Linked DNA regions of Homo sapiens: region 1 is linked to region 2. The links are contacts of gene promoters, found by promoter capture Hi-C in blood cells and fetal thymus (Javierre and others, 2016). All regions are on one chromosome and are shown on one strand. Each heading gives the region's core, a stretch centred on a gene start or on the middle of the fragment in contact. The rest is flanking DNA. Distances are from core to core; before and after follow the strand shown. Region 1 holds the start of LOC124901446. Region 2 holds the start of SNX9-AS1 (SNX9 antisense RNA 1).

The links. Contacts are between HindIII fragments. The CHiCAGO score rates a contact against its expected background, and 5 or more counts as called.
Region 1: a fragment that was not itself captured here is called in contact with the fragment with the promoter of SNX9-AS1 in region 2 in 1 of 17 cell types (naive CD4 T cells); the score reaches 6.7 in naive CD4 T cells.

What each region holds. Positions count from the first base shown.
Region 1 is chr6:157,377,222-157,381,614 of GRCh38, forward strand. It overlaps LOC124901446, which reads right to left and starts at 3,870. Exons shown (of 1, transcript XM_047419644.1): 1 at 2,093-3,870. The coding sequence starts at 3,480. The coding sequence ends at 2,590. ZDHHC14 (zDHHC palmitoyltransferase 14) reads left to right here and starts at 3,969. Exons shown (of 9, transcript NM_024630.3): 1 at 3,969-4,393. RefSeq lists enhancers at 2,293-2,905, 3,517-4,128 and silencers at 3,107-3,186, 3,347-4,236. The HindIII fragment of the contact is 1,650 bases long and covers 609-2,258 here.
Region 2 is chr6:157,890,349-157,894,807 of GRCh38, forward strand. It overlaps SNX9-AS1 (SNX9 antisense RNA 1), which reads right to left and starts at 2,534. Exons shown (of 2, transcript NR_183542.1): 1 at 2,345-2,534. The region is part of intron 4 of SNX9 (sorting nexin 9); the gene reads left to right. The HindIII fragment of the contact is 5,913 bases long and covers 1,631-4,459 here.

The DNA of each region.
Region 1 (4,393 bases), core at 184-2,683, 510 kb before region 2:
ATGTAAAGAGGCAGTATTAGGCTAAACCCCATTTAGCAAAAGTAGATCATGCACTCTTTCAATTCAATTCAAGACTCATTTTTGGATTATTTGTTATTGGCGAGGCATTCTCAAGGAATTTTTAGCAGGTCTTTTGACTTTTCAGTGTCCTTGTTTGAGAAATACAAGTTTTGGTCTCTAATTCTAGATACGCTGACGTCCCTCTAGCATTAAAGTTTGGAATCTATACATTCCTGGAGGGCAAGGACGGTGATTTTTCTTTCAGACCCCTCAACACTTACACCGATGGTGGGTACAGAGTGTGGCATACAGAATTGATGCTGGTGCACACAGAATGAATTCCTGTTCCTTTTTCCCTCTCTCCCTGGCCCTCGCTCCACTCCAGCCAGACTGGTTTTTCTTTGTACCCCTAGAATTTTCCAGGTTGTTCTGCCTTGAGGACTTGGTACTTGCCCCTTCCCATCATTCGATTCTCTGCCCGACCCCAGTCTCTCCATCCCATAACCCTGCTTTGTTTTTTCGTTCTTGTAATTACTCTCTGAAATTGTCTTACTAGTCATTTATTTATTTGTTTATTCTCTCCACCTCTCCCCCAGTCCCCAAATATAAGCTTCTATCTTGGATCTTTTTGTATCACTGCTGCTAAAACAGTACTTAGCACAATCTAGGCCCTGAAATAGATAACTGTAAAATAAATGAATAAACTCTACCATCCCTTATACAGTAGGTTTTACAGTCATCCCTCAGTATCCTCAGGAGATTGGTTCCAGGATCACCTGCGTATACCTGAATCTGCACATATTCAGGTCCTTAAACAGGCTCCACAGAACCTGCATATAGGAAGAGTGGGCCTTTGCCCTCTGAATACTCGCATTTCCCATCCCACGGATGCTGTATTTTCCATCTGCATTTGGTTGAAAAAAATCCGTGTCTAAGGGCATCCACGCTGTTCAAACCCATATTGTTCAAGATCAACTGTAGCTGGTGAGGTGAACTCTGCAGCTATCACACACCAGGTTCTAGTGAACGCTCTTAGGGGAGGGTAACCCATACAAGTGAATTAACCGCAGAGGTCTTAGTACACATGGAGTGGGAAGAAAAAAGTTATCCCCTGGAAGACAACTACAGACAATTGTATCAGCTATTTAGAAATCATATCAGCATATCTTATTTGCTGTGGAAACTTTAGGTAACATTTTAAAACGAATTCATTTCTTTTTATTATGGAAAATGTCAAACATAAACATGAGTAGATGTGGTAGGTAAGAAAAGCATAATGGACTCTCATGTACACTGTGGTGGATGCACTCCGGGGTGTCCCTCACCCTAGGGTTCATGCCCTGTGTACTCCTCTCCCTTTGAGTGTGTGCAAAACATGCTTTCTGGCCAACAGAATGTTCACATTTGAAGTTGCCCCCGTGGGATTGCTTTATGTTATATAAAATTCTGTCTTGCTGGAGACTCACTCTGGGGACTCTCCTTGCAGGCCTGACAAAATAAGTGGCTGTGCTCGGAAAGCCCAAGTGACAATGAAGTCCAGGTAACCTCTAGGAATTGCAGGTTCCCTCTTGGAGCTGAGGACAGTCTCCAGTCTCCAGCCAGCAAGAAGCCAGGGCCCTCGGTCCTACTGCTGCAAGGAAAGGAATTTTGCCTGTGCCCGGAGTCAGAGTGGAAGCCAGTTCTTCTCCAGTGAATGTGAACGCAGCCTGGCCAGCCCCTTGATGGCAGGCGTGAGACCCTAAGTGGGGGACTGAGTGTACCTGGACACCTGATCCATAAAAACTGTGAGAAAAATCTGTCTTGTTTTAAGGCCACTACGTTTGTGGCAATTTGCAGCAATAAATAATTAAGTACAAGTACATGTCACCCAAGGTCAACTATTTTCAACAGTTTCCAATTGTTTCATTTATACCTCCATGTCTGGAGCTGGGTGGGTGGGAGGAGGGGAGTGGATGGGCTGGTGTGTTTTAAAGCACATTTCAGACTTTATATTATTTCGCTGGCAGATACTTTAGTACATATCTCTAACAGACAAGGAAGGACTTTTTAAAAGCATAACCATAATGCCAGAAAAATTCGGTTTCATTGAGAATAAGAGTGGGAGTCTTTTTTAATGCCATCAAATCAATGGATCTATTATATTAATTGGACACCCACAGAAAAGGTGCTTGCAATAAACAGAATAAGAATAATACCCCGTTGATCTCATTAGCTAAAGGACAGGAAAGCATATGAGAGCTTTCACTTGAAATGTATGAAGCTTTCCAGTTGGTTTTTTAAAACTAGTCCAGCCACAAATACTTAATTGTCCCTGTAATATGCTTGTCTCTCATACAATATCTAAAATAATTAAAACCCAATTATTATCGTGTGCTTAAGATCCATTCTCCCTAGACTCTAACCGGCTTTGGAATGGACCCCTGTAAATTTCACTTGTATTCAAAACTCCTTGTAATTGCATGTCATACTCTAATTGCTATTCCCATCACTTTTTCCTTACCACAGCTCCTCCCAACTGGCCCTCTTGGATAAGCCAATCTCATCCCCCTTCGACACTCCTCACTGAGGCACGCTTTGTAAGGGACATACTTAGGGCTCTGGGTTCGATGCCATCTCTACTACTTGGGAGCTTTGTGATGTTTGGCCAGTAGTTAAGCTTTCTCTAAGCTGGATACAATAATGCCTCACCGGGTTCCGGCGAAGATTAGACAAAGAACATGTGTAACGTGCAAACTGCCCAGTACAGAGAAGGCACCGTTCCCCACAACCCCCTTTGTTGGTTCCCATCTCCCACCACCTAGCCCCAGAACGCCCAGCACCACGCCTCTCCTGCCCTTGTCGCGGGGGATGCAGGGACTTGTAGTTTCTAAGGCCCCGAGTCGTGCTTCTCCTCGGCGCAGGCCTGCGGGCGGAAGAACTACACATCCCAGTGGGCTGTGAAAGGAAAGTGGGGCTCGGGAAATTGAGCATCCCTGCCCAGCTGCCTTCGTTTTCTGCGGCCCCGGGGCTATGCCCACCTCTGCGGGGGCTCGGACCCGCGGCAACGCCTGGGAGGGCGCGAGCGAGCAGAAGCCCCAGGCTCCGGCCGTCCCAGGGCCGCGCCCGCAGCTCCTCCTGGGCTGTCGGGTGGGAAGGGGGGAGGCGCAGGCGGGAGAGGAGAAGCACGCGACCCCTCCGCTGCCGAGGGGGCTCCACGGGGGAATGGAGGGAGAAATAAAGCGAGCAGCTGTAAACGTCCGTGGGGAGAAGTGGAGACCGAAAGAGCTGGGCGGCAGCAACCCAAAACCTGGCCTCCAAGGGCTTATACTCCGGGAGGGAGGCCGGGGCCGGAGGGGACCCTGACCGCTTCCTCTGCCCTTCTTTCTCGGCCCGGAAGCCGGCCGAGCCGGGCCCCGAGACCCTCGCCCGCAGCCCGGTCCCGAAGTCAGGCCGGCCTAGGGCCGCCCCACCCCATCCTGGCACCCGGCACCCCCAGCCCATTTCTCGGGCATCACCAGAGTCCCCGGGCGACGCGACCACGCGCCCAGCTGGGGAGGAGGAAGAAGGGAGGCGCAGGCCGGGGAGGGTCACCTCCGCGCCGCGGCTCCTCAGGTCCCGGGGAGTCGCCAGGAGTGGCTTGCCGGTGGCCGTGGGAATGAGCGTGTCCCGAGGCGGCAGCTGCTGCGCGGGATAAACCCGGAAGAAGCCGCGAGACGGACTGAAGTCGGCCAGGAGCGCACTGCGCGGCGGGGCCGCGGGCGCCCGACCCCATCCCTACTTGGGCGATGCCACAGGGAGCCCCGCGCCTTCCACACCCCAGGGCGCCCGCCCGAGGGGGCTGGGGCTGGAATCTCGCTGCGCCGGTGCCCTGGCTTCGCGGGCGAGGAGGAGGAGGAGCAGGAGGAGGAGCCGCGGGTGAGGCGCGAGGCCACCGCCCACCCGGCCCGGAGGAGGCGGACCCACTCGGAGCGCCGCGCGCGCGCCGGGCTGAGCCTTGCAAACAAGTGTCTGTGCTGTGTCCCCGCGGCCCTCCTCGCGCCGGGGCCGCTTCCTCCGGGTAGGAGGGAGCAAGGGAGCCCTCGCCGCGCGGCCCGCGAGCCGCCGCCGCCCTCGGCCCGCGCATCCCCGCGCGGGGGCCGCGGATTCGACTAGGCTGCCAGGCGCAGCGACACCGGGTCGCGGTGCGAGCGGCGCCCCGGCTCTCGCCGAGAGGCTCCTGACAGAAAAACGTGCGTGGTTGTCCCCACCCCTGGGAGGGGTTGCCGGTGCCGCGCGCGGCCGCCCAGTCGCCAGCGCTCTCTCCTGGGAGGATCCGCTGCCGGAGGAAGGAGTGGACCCAACCTGGCCGCGCCGCAGAAGTGGCTCCCGAGGAAGCCGGCGCCGGGGCCGCCGCCTCGTGTCCCCTCGGGGCGCA
Region 2 (4,459 bases), core at 1,284-3,783:
TAGCTAATGCTGTAAATCCTTTGAGTGAATGTGTTTAAATAAGTCTCCCAATGTCAAGCCTGCATAAATATATTTCTCTATTTGCATTATGAGGAGAGGATAGCTTTTAAATTTAGAACGTTAAACCAGCAAATTGTTAGTATATTGCTCCTGGGCCTAAAGGGGCATTTGATTTAGCTGGGGTGGGAGTTAGGAAGAGAGTCGGACATAATCATCTACCTGTGGTGATTACATAGATTTAAGCGTGTCCCAGAGACCCAACCAGACATGCTGTAGGAGTGTATTCATTCAACAGATACTTAATTTACAAAGCGTTTACCCAGGGCCCCACGTTCACGGGCAGCAGGAGATGGCAGGTTACCCTGATGGACACAGCCCTTCTCTGTGTCCTTCTAATGGAGCTCAGACGAGAGTGATTGTATATGTCGATTTTGTTTGTTGCATTTTCCAATGTTTGTTAAAATTTCAAGCATAGAAGAGTTAAACGAATTTCATAGTGAATAATCATATACCCACCTTCTAGATTTTACCATTCCCATTTTACTGCTCTTGCTTTCTCTCATATTTGCCCATTCCTCCATCTCCTGTGCCTGTCTGTATCATCCACTTTCAGAACTCAGACACTGTTATTTTAAGGGTACTCATAGTGTCACATGCTAAAAATTCTTTTTTCTTTCTCTTTTTTTTTTTTTTTTTTTTTTGAGACAGAGTCTCACTCTGTCACCCAGGCTGGAGTGTAGTGGTGTGAACTCGGCTCACTGCAACCTCCGCCTTCCAGGTTCAAGCGATTCTCCTGCTTCAGCCTCCCAAGTAGCTGGGATTATAGGCTCCTGCCACCACACCCGGCTTTTTGTATTTTTAATAGAGATGGGGTTTCACCATGTTGGCTAGGCTGGTCTCAAACTCCTGACCTCAAGTGATCCTCCTGCCTCAGCCTCCCAAAATGTTGGGATTACAAGTGTGAACCGCTGCGCCTGGCCAAAAATCATTTTTTCTGTAGTCACATGCTGAAAATCACTTATTCTGTGATCGACCACAACAAGTTAATTTTTTCAAAAAGACTCAATTTAGTCTTTTTATACATAAGGCAAAGTCTTAGTATACATAGTCTTAGTATACATAAGGCAAATCTGATTTCCTCCTTTTGGTGATCATGTCATGAAGGTTAGAGGTCTGACAAAGAGTAAGATATATTTCATACAAATGATCAAGAACATCACATTTAAAATATTTGAGTCCTTGCCACTTTATGCAAGGCATTTGGAGAATCTTTTGGGGGAAACATTCTCCGGGTAAGACAGAGCTGTCCCCGTGATTCACTGGTGGGACTGACCATCTGATTTGCAAATAATGAAGAAAGTGAAAGGAGGCGGCTGGATGTCAGCCAGCAGGCTGTGGGAAGGCCAGAGCCCTTCTGATGGGGTAGGGCTTTGCTAAATTGAGGAAGATGAGGTGTGCAGATAAGAGTACAGTATAGTGTGAGGAACAGCAGAGATGTAGAAAAGTTTGGGGAAATGTGTGAAGTTTGAAGCTTCAGAGTGAAGGTTAGTGGCAGGTAGGGAGAATGGGGAATGCAGCACGAGGCAAAGTTGAGACCTGTGCTGAAGAAACTCCTGATTGAGCCACAGGAAGCTTGGAGGTGACTCTAGGGGCAGTGAGTGCTAATGAAGGGATTTTAATTACCCATGATGGACAGTTAAGAGCTTTGCAAAATAAGGAGTGGGAAGAGAAAGAGGATGAAGATGCTGCTCAGTAGAAAGGAAGAGGAGGGAAAGGTGGAAGGAAAGGACAGAGAGGCGCCACAGGATGGAAACCTCAGCCCAGGAGCTGAATAGGTTTTACCGTGACGAGGTGTCTGTAGTTAGGGAACTACCAAGGGGATTTGGGAGTTGAGAGTGAAGAAGGCAGAGATCGACGTATGGGAAGGATGGGTTCAGAGAGAAAGCCAGTGATTGGTTACAGTTAAGAGGGGAAGGGACCTGCCAGGGCAGTAAAAGGCCATCTGCTGAGGGACTGAGTCCGAGGGCCGTGACGGAAGCTGCAGGAAAGATCTCCAGTTGGTAGGGTTTTGAGAAATGTGTTATCAGCAGGAGTTGGGTTGAAACAAGATAAAGAGAGCGTTCCAGGAAAAAAAAAAACAAAACCAAAGAGATAGAAACAAACATAACCACAAAGATTTCATAACTTAGGTGGAGAGCTAAGATCACATACATAACCAACTAGTATGACAGTTACTACACACCTACAAATTATTGACCAAGTGATTTTCAAAGAACAATTATTTGTTTTTGCCCTAATTAAATGGATTTTAATTTTTTGAGGACACTTGCTATGAATAGTTCACCTCCAGGTTTTTCCTCCATCTTGATGAAAATCCTTCCTGGCCAGTTTGCTAAGACTGAACTGTCTTCTGGAAGGCCCCAGCGAACATTCACTCTCCTGTTCTAGCTCACAGTCCTGTGTTCCTTTGTGATGTACCTCACTTAGCTTCTGGCAGTCTTCTGAATCCAGACCACTCACTTCTGAACTCTAGCCCGAGGTTACACAGCGGAAGAGAGGTAGAGCTGTTAACGGAATTCCAACTCACTAGGCTCTTGACTGTGGCCCTCCGAGCCCCTCCATTTCACAGCCGGTCCTTGATGGAAACCAGGCTGAGGCTGCTGTACCAATGATAGTCTGTCCCTAGTGTCCCAAACTTTGGTACTTTTTCAAGTTCTTATTTGAAAAAACTTGTAACTTAGAGTTTGGAGGACACGGAATATATTGCTAAATAGGAGAATAAAACTACATTTCCTTAAAGAAAACTGTAGAAGGAAGGGTTTCTCTTAGCTGAAGTGTGACTGCCAGGCCCTCAGCATGATTGCCTTCATTTCCAGCGTCCACTGGGGTCATCTGAGAGTCCATCCCGAAGCCGAATGTCACCTTGTAAAGCTGTGTGTTTGAGAAGTCACAGTCTTGTGGATGAAACATCTTTCTCCTGTTAGTATTTGACATAGAGTAAAATAACAAGTAACTTCAGTTTTTTCCTTAGAGGTATATAGGGCAGTAGAATGACATCATACTTGCACATCAAAAGCATGTAGTCTGTTTTTGATGCACCTGGCACGTGACAGCCAGCTGTCTGCCCCATGTGTCGGTTGGTGAAGAGTCAAAACAGACCAGCCACTAGGGTGTCTGTCCTACAACATTAGGGGCTATATTAGACAGGGTGGGTAATTTTCTTGCAATTATATTTTTTTCTTTTTTTAACTAGCACCATTTGTGTGTGTGTGTGTGTGTGTGTGTATAAGACTCAAATAAAGGGGAAGACTTGCTATTTCATGTTATGAAATAGATTCAGTACTGAAATATTGTGGAGTGAAAGGCATGAATAATTTTAATCAATTTTCTATGAATTCAGTAAACAGTGATTCAAATGAAAATCAGTATTTTAACTCAACATTCTAATGTGAAAGTTCAGATTGTTTTAGTTTAAATATTAAGCTGATGCTAAAGTTTATACATAAAAATAAACAGCTAAGAGATGTTATGCTAAAGTATTGATGGTTTTTCTATGAAAGTGTGGTACTAGTACAAATAGATCACTAAGAAACAAGAGAGTCCAGCTATAGACCCAAATCTGATATGTGATGAAGGCGGCATTTCAAATCATGGGGGAAAGATGGATTGTTCATGAAATGGTATTAGGGTGACCGACTGAGGACAAGATGTTCAGCTGGATCCCTGTATCATTTCTTTTTCTTTTCGCTTTTCTTTTCTTTTTTTTTTTTTTTTTTTTTGAGACAGAGTCTCTCTGTGTCGCCCAGTCTGGAGTGCAGTGGCGTGATCTCAGCTCATTGCAATCTCCGCCTCCTGGATTCAAGCAATTCTCCTGCCTCAGCCTCCCAAGTAGCTGGGATTACAGGCGCCCACCACTACACCTGACTAATTTTTGTATTTTTAGTAGAGATGGGGTTTCACCGTGTTGGCCAGGCTGATCTCAAACTCCTGACCTCAGGTGATCCTCCCGCCTCGGCCTCCGAAAGTGGTAGGATTATAGGCATGAGCCACTGTGCCCGGCCCCTATATTATTTGTTTTACTTAACTCAGTTCCAGACAGATACAAGATTTAAATGTTAAAAAAAAAAAAAAAAAAAAAGCTAACAAAAAACTGTATTTGCCTCAAGGGTGGGATGGTGGGGGCAGGGCTAATAGGTGCTAAGTGTACTCTCTACTGGAATATTCTTTGAGATTGGGTGCCATCTATTTCCCATTCCAAAAGTTTATTTGTAAGATTAATAATTAAACTATTAAATTACTCAAAGGAATTATGGGAGAGAAATACTTTTTAAAAAGAAGTATGAAAGTCCCTTTCTATGTAAGACAAAACCCCTCAGCGTGACAGTTGTCAGAATGTGGGAATGTTATTGCATTCTCTTTCAAAAGCAATTTGACAAAATCCATCGGTTCTAAATACACA